Linked DNA regions of Homo sapiens: all the other regions are linked to region 3. Evidence: promoter capture Hi-C in 16 types of primary human blood cells and fetal thymus (Javierre and others, 2016). All regions are on one chromosome and are shown on one strand. Each heading gives the region's core, a stretch centred on a gene start or on the middle of the fragment in contact. The rest is flanking DNA. Distances are from core to core; before and after follow the strand shown. Region 1 overlaps PM20D1 (peptidase M20 domain containing 1). Region 2 holds the start of PM20D1 (peptidase M20 domain containing 1). Region 3 holds the start of AVPR1B (arginine vasopressin receptor 1B).

What was found. The method cuts DNA at HindIII sites, captures the fragments that hold promoters and counts their contacts. A CHiCAGO score of 5 or more calls a contact.
Region 1: a contact is called between a fragment that was not itself captured here and the fragment with the promoter of AVPR1B in region 3, in 1 of 17 cell types (M1 macrophages). The highest score is 5.4, in M1 macrophages.
Region 2: the fragment with the promoter of PM20D1 here is called in contact with the fragment with the promoter of AVPR1B in region 3 in 4 of 17 cell types (erythroblasts, M0 macrophages, M1 macrophages and 1 more); the score reaches 7.0 in erythroblasts.

Annotation. Positions count from the first base shown.
Region 1 is chr1:205,829,189-205,831,888 of GRCh38, forward strand. It overlaps PM20D1 (peptidase M20 domain containing 1), which reads right to left. Exons shown (of 13, transcript NM_152491.5): 12 at 1,092-1,191. Among named protein-coding and RNA genes, the nearest start is that of SLC41A1, 17 kb to the left of the region's middle. The HindIII fragment of the contact is 9,446 bases long and covers 1-2,700 here.
Region 2 is chr1:205,848,865-205,851,639 of GRCh38, forward strand. It overlaps PM20D1 (peptidase M20 domain containing 1), which reads right to left and starts at 1,268. Exons shown (of 13, transcript NM_152491.5): 1 at 1,040-1,268. The coding sequence starts at 1,208. RefSeq lists an enhancer at 1,197-1,491. The HindIII fragment of the contact is 2,085 bases long and covers 1-1,581 here.
Region 3 is chr1:206,116,040-206,118,739 of GRCh38, forward strand. AVPR1B (arginine vasopressin receptor 1B) reads right to left here and starts at 1,349. Exons shown (of 2, transcript NM_000707.5): 1 at 1-1,349. The coding sequence starts at 851. AVPR1B-DT (AVPR1B divergent transcript) reads left to right here and starts at 1,744. Exons shown (of 3, transcript NR_186693.1): 1 at 1,744-1,786; 2 at 2,031-2,301. RefSeq lists a silencer at 2,169-2,463. The HindIII fragment of the contact is 5,056 bases long and covers 1-2,700 here.

The sequences.
Region 1 (2,700 bases), core at 160-2,659, 290 kb before region 3:
TTTATTTTTAAATTTTTTTTTGAAGAGATGGAGTCTCATTATGTTGCCCAGGCTGGTCTCAAACTTCTGGGCTCAAGTGAGCCTCCTGCCTCAGCCTCCCAAAGTATTGGGATTATAGGTGTGAGTCACCACACTTGGCCAAGAACTATCTTTCCAATTGTCTTTCTCTTAGGACAGAATGCCTAGCTAGACTATCTCTAAGCCAGTCTCCTACTGTCCCACTTACTAGGGCTAAGAGAGGGTAGGGAAGGCAACTGCCCAGGGTGCCTACCCAGTTTTCTGTGGCACCTAGAAACTTTACTATCAGACCTCACATCCACCAACCTGCCTCCCCACAGTGAAACAAAACAGAGCAAAACAAAACAAACAACAACCAAACTACATATGTAATCTCAAAGATGAAAGGAAACAGAGTACCTACCCATCTCCCATTTAAAAAACAAAAACATGAAAGCTGTTCTTAAGCTCCTATTCAAATATTTTCACTCTGTCTACAGAGGATTTAGGATGGGGAAATCAAGTCTGGACGTGATAAGTAGCAGAGAGGTAAATGGAAATCATCCTCCCAAACCCCAGGATTGAAAATGTGCTGAAGAACCCACAAAAATAGTAATTCACACAGAGCAGTTAAAATTGGTGCTCACATCTTGGATTTCCATAGTGCTTTCTTCTGAGAAGTCAAAACACGCATCCACCTTTGACCTCATATGTGTCTGCATTTCAGAAAATGCTGAGGAGTCTCCCCATTTTGTAAGTGGAGAAAACGGGGTCCAGAGGATAAGCCCTCTCCCAAAGAGAGGAAGAGCTGGGATTAGCACCCAAGGGTACCGATTCCACCAGGTTCTCCCCAATCACCCAATTATCTCCATCTTTGTAAAAGAGGGGCCAATTTCCATAAATTCTAGGGGGTGACAATGAGACTCTGGCAATAAGGACAGTAGATGGGTTAGGTTCTACAATGTCTCCATTTCATTTTGCCAAATCCTGGCTTTCCCCCTGATTCTGTGGACTGCCAGGAGCATGGGGTAGGAAAAGGACACATCAAGTGTATTTCTTTTCTCCCACCTGCTGCTCAAACCTGTTCCACTCACCGTTTGAAGTCTTCAGGCTGTATGTAGATGGGGTAGAACCTGTAGATGCCAGTGGTGAGGTTTGTAAAGAATCGGCTGTCTGTGTTGCCAATAGAAGTAACTAGAGAGGGAAGATCAACAGGAAAGGGGCTTTACATGAGCAATCAAACCAGCGAAGTGGCTGGGGTGTGGCCTGGCTGGAAAATCAGGACTACTGGATCACTACAGAGCAATGCCTGGGCTCTCCTGAAAGCGTATAGCTATCCTTACAAAAAGCACCATTTCAGCCAGGAACATGGAATCTCCTTCCAAGGGCATTGGTGAGACATCCCTTGGATGGACCATTCAAGGGATGTCTCACCAATGCCCTTGGAAGTGTCCTCTCCCCATGACGACCAGGGAGGCCAATATCTTCATTTCATACCCAAGGCCATGGCCATTTGCTATTCCCCATGACGCCCAGGGTGGCCAGTATCTTCATTTCATACCCAAGGCCATGGCCGTTTGCTGTTCCCCATGACGCCCAGGGTGGCCAGTATCTTCATTTCATACCCAAGGCCATGGCTGTTTGCTGTTCCCCATGACGCCCAGGGTGGCCAGTATCTTCATTTCATACCCAAGGCCATGGCCATTTGCTATTTAAGAAACCAGAATCTAGATAGCACTTCTTTATCACCTGACCTTTATTCTGTATCACTCTAGGTCAGAAATAAATACCCTCTGGGAGAACTTTACTACTATAAAATATCACCGTCTTGAATTGGAACAAAATTTCCTGTTATTCTCATCCTCTGAAGTCTTCCTAGAGTCAAACCTTAGGTCTGGAAAGTGCCAGGATACTCTCTTTCCAGTTTCCCACTCTCCTGAAGGTGGTAGCAGGTCACCTAGCAGAGGCTGGGACTTGTGCCCATAGGTGTGTTCTTTGGGAAAAGACACCCTGGAGGATCAATTCAAGTGTGTGCGGTGATTTGAGATGGTAATTTGTGTTTTGTTCCATCTTCCACTCCTGGTTTCAAATGGACATCCAGGCCCTTCAAGTTCCTTGCTTTGTGGTTGATTGCTGCCTATCTTTTTTCTGCAAAAGCCTGGCCCCATTGGTGGATTACAGTAAGTGCTCCAGAAGAAAGAGAATAGAGTAGGTAGCCTTTGAGGGCCAAGAGAGGAGAATCTGGGATTGTGAGGGCCGGGTTCCTGGATGTTTGGAGGAATCTCTGATTAAACCAAGAGAAAAGAAAACTAGACACAGGCCTTAATATTAGAGCATTAATAATTGAGCAATATCATTATTATTGAGCAACGTCTCTCTCCTTTTTTTTTTTTTTTTTGACAGAGTCTTGCTCTGTCACCCAGGCTGGACTGCAGTGGGGCTGTCTCGGCTTACTGCAACCTCTGCCTCCTGGGTTCAAGCGATTCTCCTGCCTCATCCTCCCGAGTAGCTGGGACTACAGGCGTGAGCTACCACGCCCAGCTAATTTTTGTATTTTTAGTAGAGACGAGGTTTCACCATATTGGTCAGGCTGGTCTTGAACTCCTGACCTCATGATCCACCCGCCTCTGCCTCCCAAAGTGCTGGGATTACAGGTGTGAGCCACCGTGCCCGGCTGAGCAATGTCTTAATATTAGAGCAATA
Region 2 (2,775 bases), core at 18-2,517, 270 kb before region 3:
GGGCAGACCCAAGGATCTGATCTCAGGTGTTCTGTCCCCTGCTCAGAGTTCCAAGCTGTGTTGCTATGAGGTCCCTATTCTAGCTTATGTAGCTTTTGTTCTCTTCTGTGCAGACTGTGAGTGGCTGTCTAATGCCTTTTAGAGAATTATTTATGCTTTGGGAAAGCCCTGCTCTGCCTCCCAGGCTTGTCACTCTAGCATATGAACAATCTATATCCAACTATTGGGGTTAGCTTTTGGTCCCTGCATCTGCTTCTATATGTTTATGCAGGCAGTCTCTCTTAATCCATTACTTAATGAAAGGGAAAAGACTGGAGCTAAGCTGAATGGTAAAGAAGGATTTCATCCCATAGGATCTAGCACTCAACAGAAACTTTCCTGTTTCCTGGAAAATGCAGATTCAGAACAGGGATGAATTTTTGGTCTGGATTAGAGATCTAGAGGAGACATGTTCTTCAATTATGATTGAGAATTAGGAACATCCCACACCCCGGGAACACTCCACTCCCTTTCTTTAGAGCCATCTGATCCCAGCGAGTCCGACAGGCACTAGATGCTGTCACCCACTGCCCACTCTTTGCTGTGGGGCCCTGGGGAAGATCATTTAGCTGACCTAAGCCTCAATTTCTCTCCTTTGTAGATAAGACTAATATCATTTGTCTTATTTTACGACACCGCAGTAATTTATCAGGCATGCAAACTTTCAAAGGTTAAAATTGATGTACAAATGAAAGCTGGTGTAATACTCGAGGCAAGCAGGGGAAAGAATGGACGGTGGTCACGCCAAGAGGGGTGAAGTTGGAGCTTCCAGGTTAGGCAGGGCACACCAGAGTTCCAGGAGCCAGGTATGGGGGAAGTGTGGCGTCCCCAGACAGGGGCACGATGTGCTGGGAAGGGTGTTGGGGCCGGGCTGGGGTGCGTGTCGGGGCTCCAGCTGCAGTAGCAGATGCTTTGCGGCGGAAGCGGGGAGTCACGGGTTGACCTGGGGAGGGAGGGACCCACATATGAGCATAGGTGGGTGAAGGGGACCCGGGTTCACCTTTCAGCGCCTCTTTCATCGCGACGCGTTCCTCTTTGCTGAACTGAGAAGGGATTCGCGACGCCCTTTGATGCTCCCCGCTCCTCGGGCCCATCGATCTGGAGACGGTAGGGAAAACTAGGAGCAGCATAGCCACCAGGGCCAGCACGCAAACGCACCGCTGAGCCATGCTTCTCTCGAGCTCCTGCTGTCAGGCTACCGGGGTAGTTCTGACCTAAACGCCCAGACTAGCGTTTCTTGGCCCTAGCTCTGCTCTTATTCCGGCAAACAGCCTTAGCCACACCCCATATCCAGATCTGACCAATCATCGCTTCGCTAGGACAGCGGAACAACCAATTGACAGAATGACCCCGCCCAGGATCCTTAAGGCCTTTCGAGGGTTGTGGGTTTTCGTGCTGAGGCCAGCAGTTCCTGCAGAGCAGAGGTGAGGTCGGGCTCCAGGCTAGAGTCATGTCTGGTCCGCACTTGATCTCTCACCCATAAATCCTTTCCTGTATGACAACAAATCAAATAAAGGAGGAAAAGCAAAATAAAATGCACGAAGCTTATCAGACCATACTCTGCTGCTCGTTTTTTCCGAAGCTTAGAACCTGACTACAATTCCCTAGATCCTGGGGCGGGGGAGCTCTCTAGGTTCCCAGCTTGATTTCATCTGAAATTGGAACAAATTGCTCTGTTTATAGATACTGCTTTGAAATACCAGCTCAGAGGGTTGGCTCCTGTTTAGAAATTTCATTGAAAGTGCTTTTAATATTAATGTTAACACTACATTTTTGCAACTCTAGACAAGTACAGTAAGACTGAAGGATTTTTAGAAAGATTACTATAAAATATTTAAGAGAATTTTGATGTATAAATAATTTTGATGTATTCCACAAGTGAAATTTTATGGTTATTCAGAGTAGAGGATCATTCTGGAAAAAAGAAAACCTGTCTTATGTCACAGAAATATAAAATCAGATTTCCTGAAGCCAGAATAAATCGTTCCTTTCAGATTTCTTGATGCAATTTTATCTGGCATCACTCTCAAATTTTAGAATTCTCAAGAAAAATTCAGTAAGTGCTATACAACCAGTAAGGCCATATTGCTACCTGTGACCAAAGCTACAGGTTCACAGTCCTGGTGTTTGCATTTCATTTAAGATTTGCTTAAAAAAAAAAATTCAGCCATGTAGTTACTTTTCTTTTCTTTTCTTTTTTTTTCTCTCTCGGTGCCCAGGCTGGAGTGCAATGGGGCGATCTCGGCTCACCGCAACCTCCGCCTCCCAGTTTCAAGCAATTCTCTGGCCTCAGCCTCCCAAGTAGCTGGGATTACAGGCATGCACCACCATGCCTGGCTAATTTTGTATTTTTAGTAGAGATGGGGTTTCTCCATGTTGGTCAGGCTGGTCTCGAACTCCCGACCTCAGGTGATCTGCCCACCTCGACCTCCCAAAGTGCTGGGATTACAGGCGTGAGCCACCACACCCTGCCTAGTTACTTTTTAATAGCAACTTTAAAACAGTATCATGAAATACTTCACATATTATAAAGATATAAAAAATAACATAATGAACATTTCTGGATTCACCACCTAGTTTAAGATTTAGAATGTTAAAAATAGAGTTGAAATTTAAACATGAACATTGACATAATTTTTAGTAAAAAGTAGCTTAATCTCTACCTAACTTTAAAATTTTTTTAAAAGAGACTTTTTATTTTATATATTTATTATTTTTTAAAATTATTATTATTTT
Region 3 (2,700 bases), core at 99-2,598:
AAGGTCATCTTCACTGTTCGGATCTTGGCCCGTGAGATGGTGTTGATGCTGCTGACCCGAGATGGCAGCCCCCGAGTGGTGGCAGCTAAGGTGGAAGGTGAGGGCCTGTCCCAAGTCCTCCAGCCCCCTCCTCCCACCCGCCAGGCCTGTGTCTTGACTTTTAGGTTTTTACAGATCTCATGGCAGATGAGGCTGTAGCAGGCCGTGAGCATGGTCACCGGCAGAACGAAGATAGCCAGGGTGGTCCAGGTGAGGTAGGCCCGTGGCCCCCAAGGGAAGCCGAAGTCTGCCCAGCAGTCCAGCACCCCTGAGCCCTGGATCACCTCCCGCAGGGAAAAAATGAAGACTTGAGGGAGGCTGAAGATGGCGGCCAGCAGCCAGGGAGCAGCGATGAGCAGGTAGGTGGACTGGCCTGGCTGCTGGAGGCTGCGCAGGGGGTGACAGACAGCCAGGTAGCGGTCCAGCGTCATGGCCAGCAGCATGTAGGTGGAGGCAAACATGCTGAGCACCTGCAGGTACTTGACGGCCCTGCACAGGAGGTCGGGGCCCTGGAAGCGGTAGGTGATGTCCCACAGCAGCTGTGGCAGCACCTGGAAGAGCGCCACGGCCAGGTCTGTCAGGGCTAAGTGCAGCACGAACAGGTGCATGCGGGAGCGCTTGCGGCCCAGCTGGCCCAGGGTCAGCAGCACAGCCAGGTTGCCCCCGGTCGCCAGCACCAGGACAGTGGCCAGGACTCCGATCTCCACCTTGGCCAGCTCCTCATCCCGGCCCAGCCAGGGTGTTGTGGCATTGGGGGCAGAGAGGGTGCCCCGAGGGGTGGGGTTGGCATCCCACAGAGGCCCAGAATCCATGAGCAAGGTTTGCTGGGAGGGAAGGATGAAGGGAGGGTGTGGATGCAAGTGGAGAGGTTTGATGGATAAAATGGAGTGGCAGGGGAGGTGGAGAGAAAGGAGAAGCGTTGAGAATGACAGGGAGAAGGCTTGCAAATAGGCGGAAATCGTTCAGAGGACTGGGATAGAGAGGAGGAGGGAGGATGAGATTCGGAAGGAGAAAATGTGACTGGGATCGACCCAGGAGAGGGAGAAGGAGGGGTCAGGAAGATGGGGAATCAGGACGGGAAGAATGGGGGACGCTGTGCAGAGTGAGGCTTCTGGGAGGGAAAGAAGGCTGGGGAGGGGCTACCACCCTCCAATCCGCCTCAAATTCTCTTTCTCCAAACTTTTCTGGAAGCCAAGAGCGGAAGCCCTTCAGCCTGCTTGGAGGCGCGGTCCGGGGCAGTCGGTGTCGCGCTCAGGGCAGGAAGCCCCAGCCAAGCCCGCTCGCTCTGCCTGGTGAGCAGCGGCTGGAGCGCAGCGGCGCGGCTCGGGCGGGTTTTATGGGCTCCCAGGCCGAGCCCGGCGGCCTGCGGCTCGCCAGTTGGCTCCTGCAGAGGAGGGAGGAGTGAGGTTCGCAGGCACCCACCCGGCGGGATGACCGAGAGGCCGGCTGCTGGAGGGAGGGGGGGCAGAGGGGGTAGCGGACGAGGGACAGGGAGCGAGACAAGCAGGCGACGCAGGCCAGCGCCCAGCAGCCGGCAGGACACACCGACCCGCAGGCAGGCAGATAAGCTCCTCTGCGCACTCACCCTGGAACTCTCGGGCCGTCTCTCCACAGGTGCATCCCCGGGGGATGGTGAGAGGCAGTCACTCCTCCCACCTACGCGGGGGCACTTCGGCTGGCGGCTGTTGGCGCGCCCTCTGCCAGCCGGCTAGCCGGTGCAGGATCCACAATCTTCAAGGGTGGCCAGGTGAGCGAGGCGGCATCCCTGATTGCCAGTCACCTGGGAGTGACGTCTGACCGCAGACCCTGTTGAGGGACTGCGAGGCATAGGGAAAGGAAGAAAAAGTGAGGGTATATGTGGGGGTGGGGAGACGAAGGAGCTAGACCTGAGAGCCCTGGTGCTTGATCGGTGGGAACAGCCGGAGAAATTCCCGGTATTTGCGTCCCCAAGGGACATCTTAACTTCTGGCCTATGTGCTTTTCGTGCTTAGGTGCTTCCAAGATCCTAAACGCAGTTAACCACTCGGCGAGGTAGAAAACAGGCCCAGAGAAGTTCAAGAACTTGCTGTAGAAGATTACTGAACGAGTAAGCAGCAGAGGCCGGTCTAGAACCAGCCCCGTGTGCCCTTCTGACAGCGCAGCAGCAGCACTTAACACCTAACCGGCTTGGCTAAATTCTATGTGAGAGGCACTGGTGCTGACGGTAAAAATAAAAACAAAACACCATCCAGTCCAGAGGCAGCTTACAGCTCAATAGAGAAGGTATTGTGTGGTGTTGGCTGTGAAATTCACTTAATCTTCAGTATGCAAGATGGACTATTGGGACTCTCCCTAGAGCAGATTAGAAGTTAGGAGTGACAGACTGGGCGCGATGGCTCACGTCTGTAATCCCAGCACTTTGGGAGGCCGAGGCGGGCAGATCACGAGGTCAGGAGATCGAGACCATCCTGGCTAACACGGTGAAACCCCATCTCTACTAAAAATACAAAAAATTAGCCGGGCGTGGTGGCGGGCGCCTGTGGTCCCAGCTACTGGGGAGGCTGAGGCAGGAGAATGGCGTGAACCCGGGAGGCAGGGCTTGCAGTGAGCCGAGAACACACCACTGCACTCCAGCCTGGGCGACAGAGTGAAACTCTGTCTCAAAAACAAACAAACAAACAA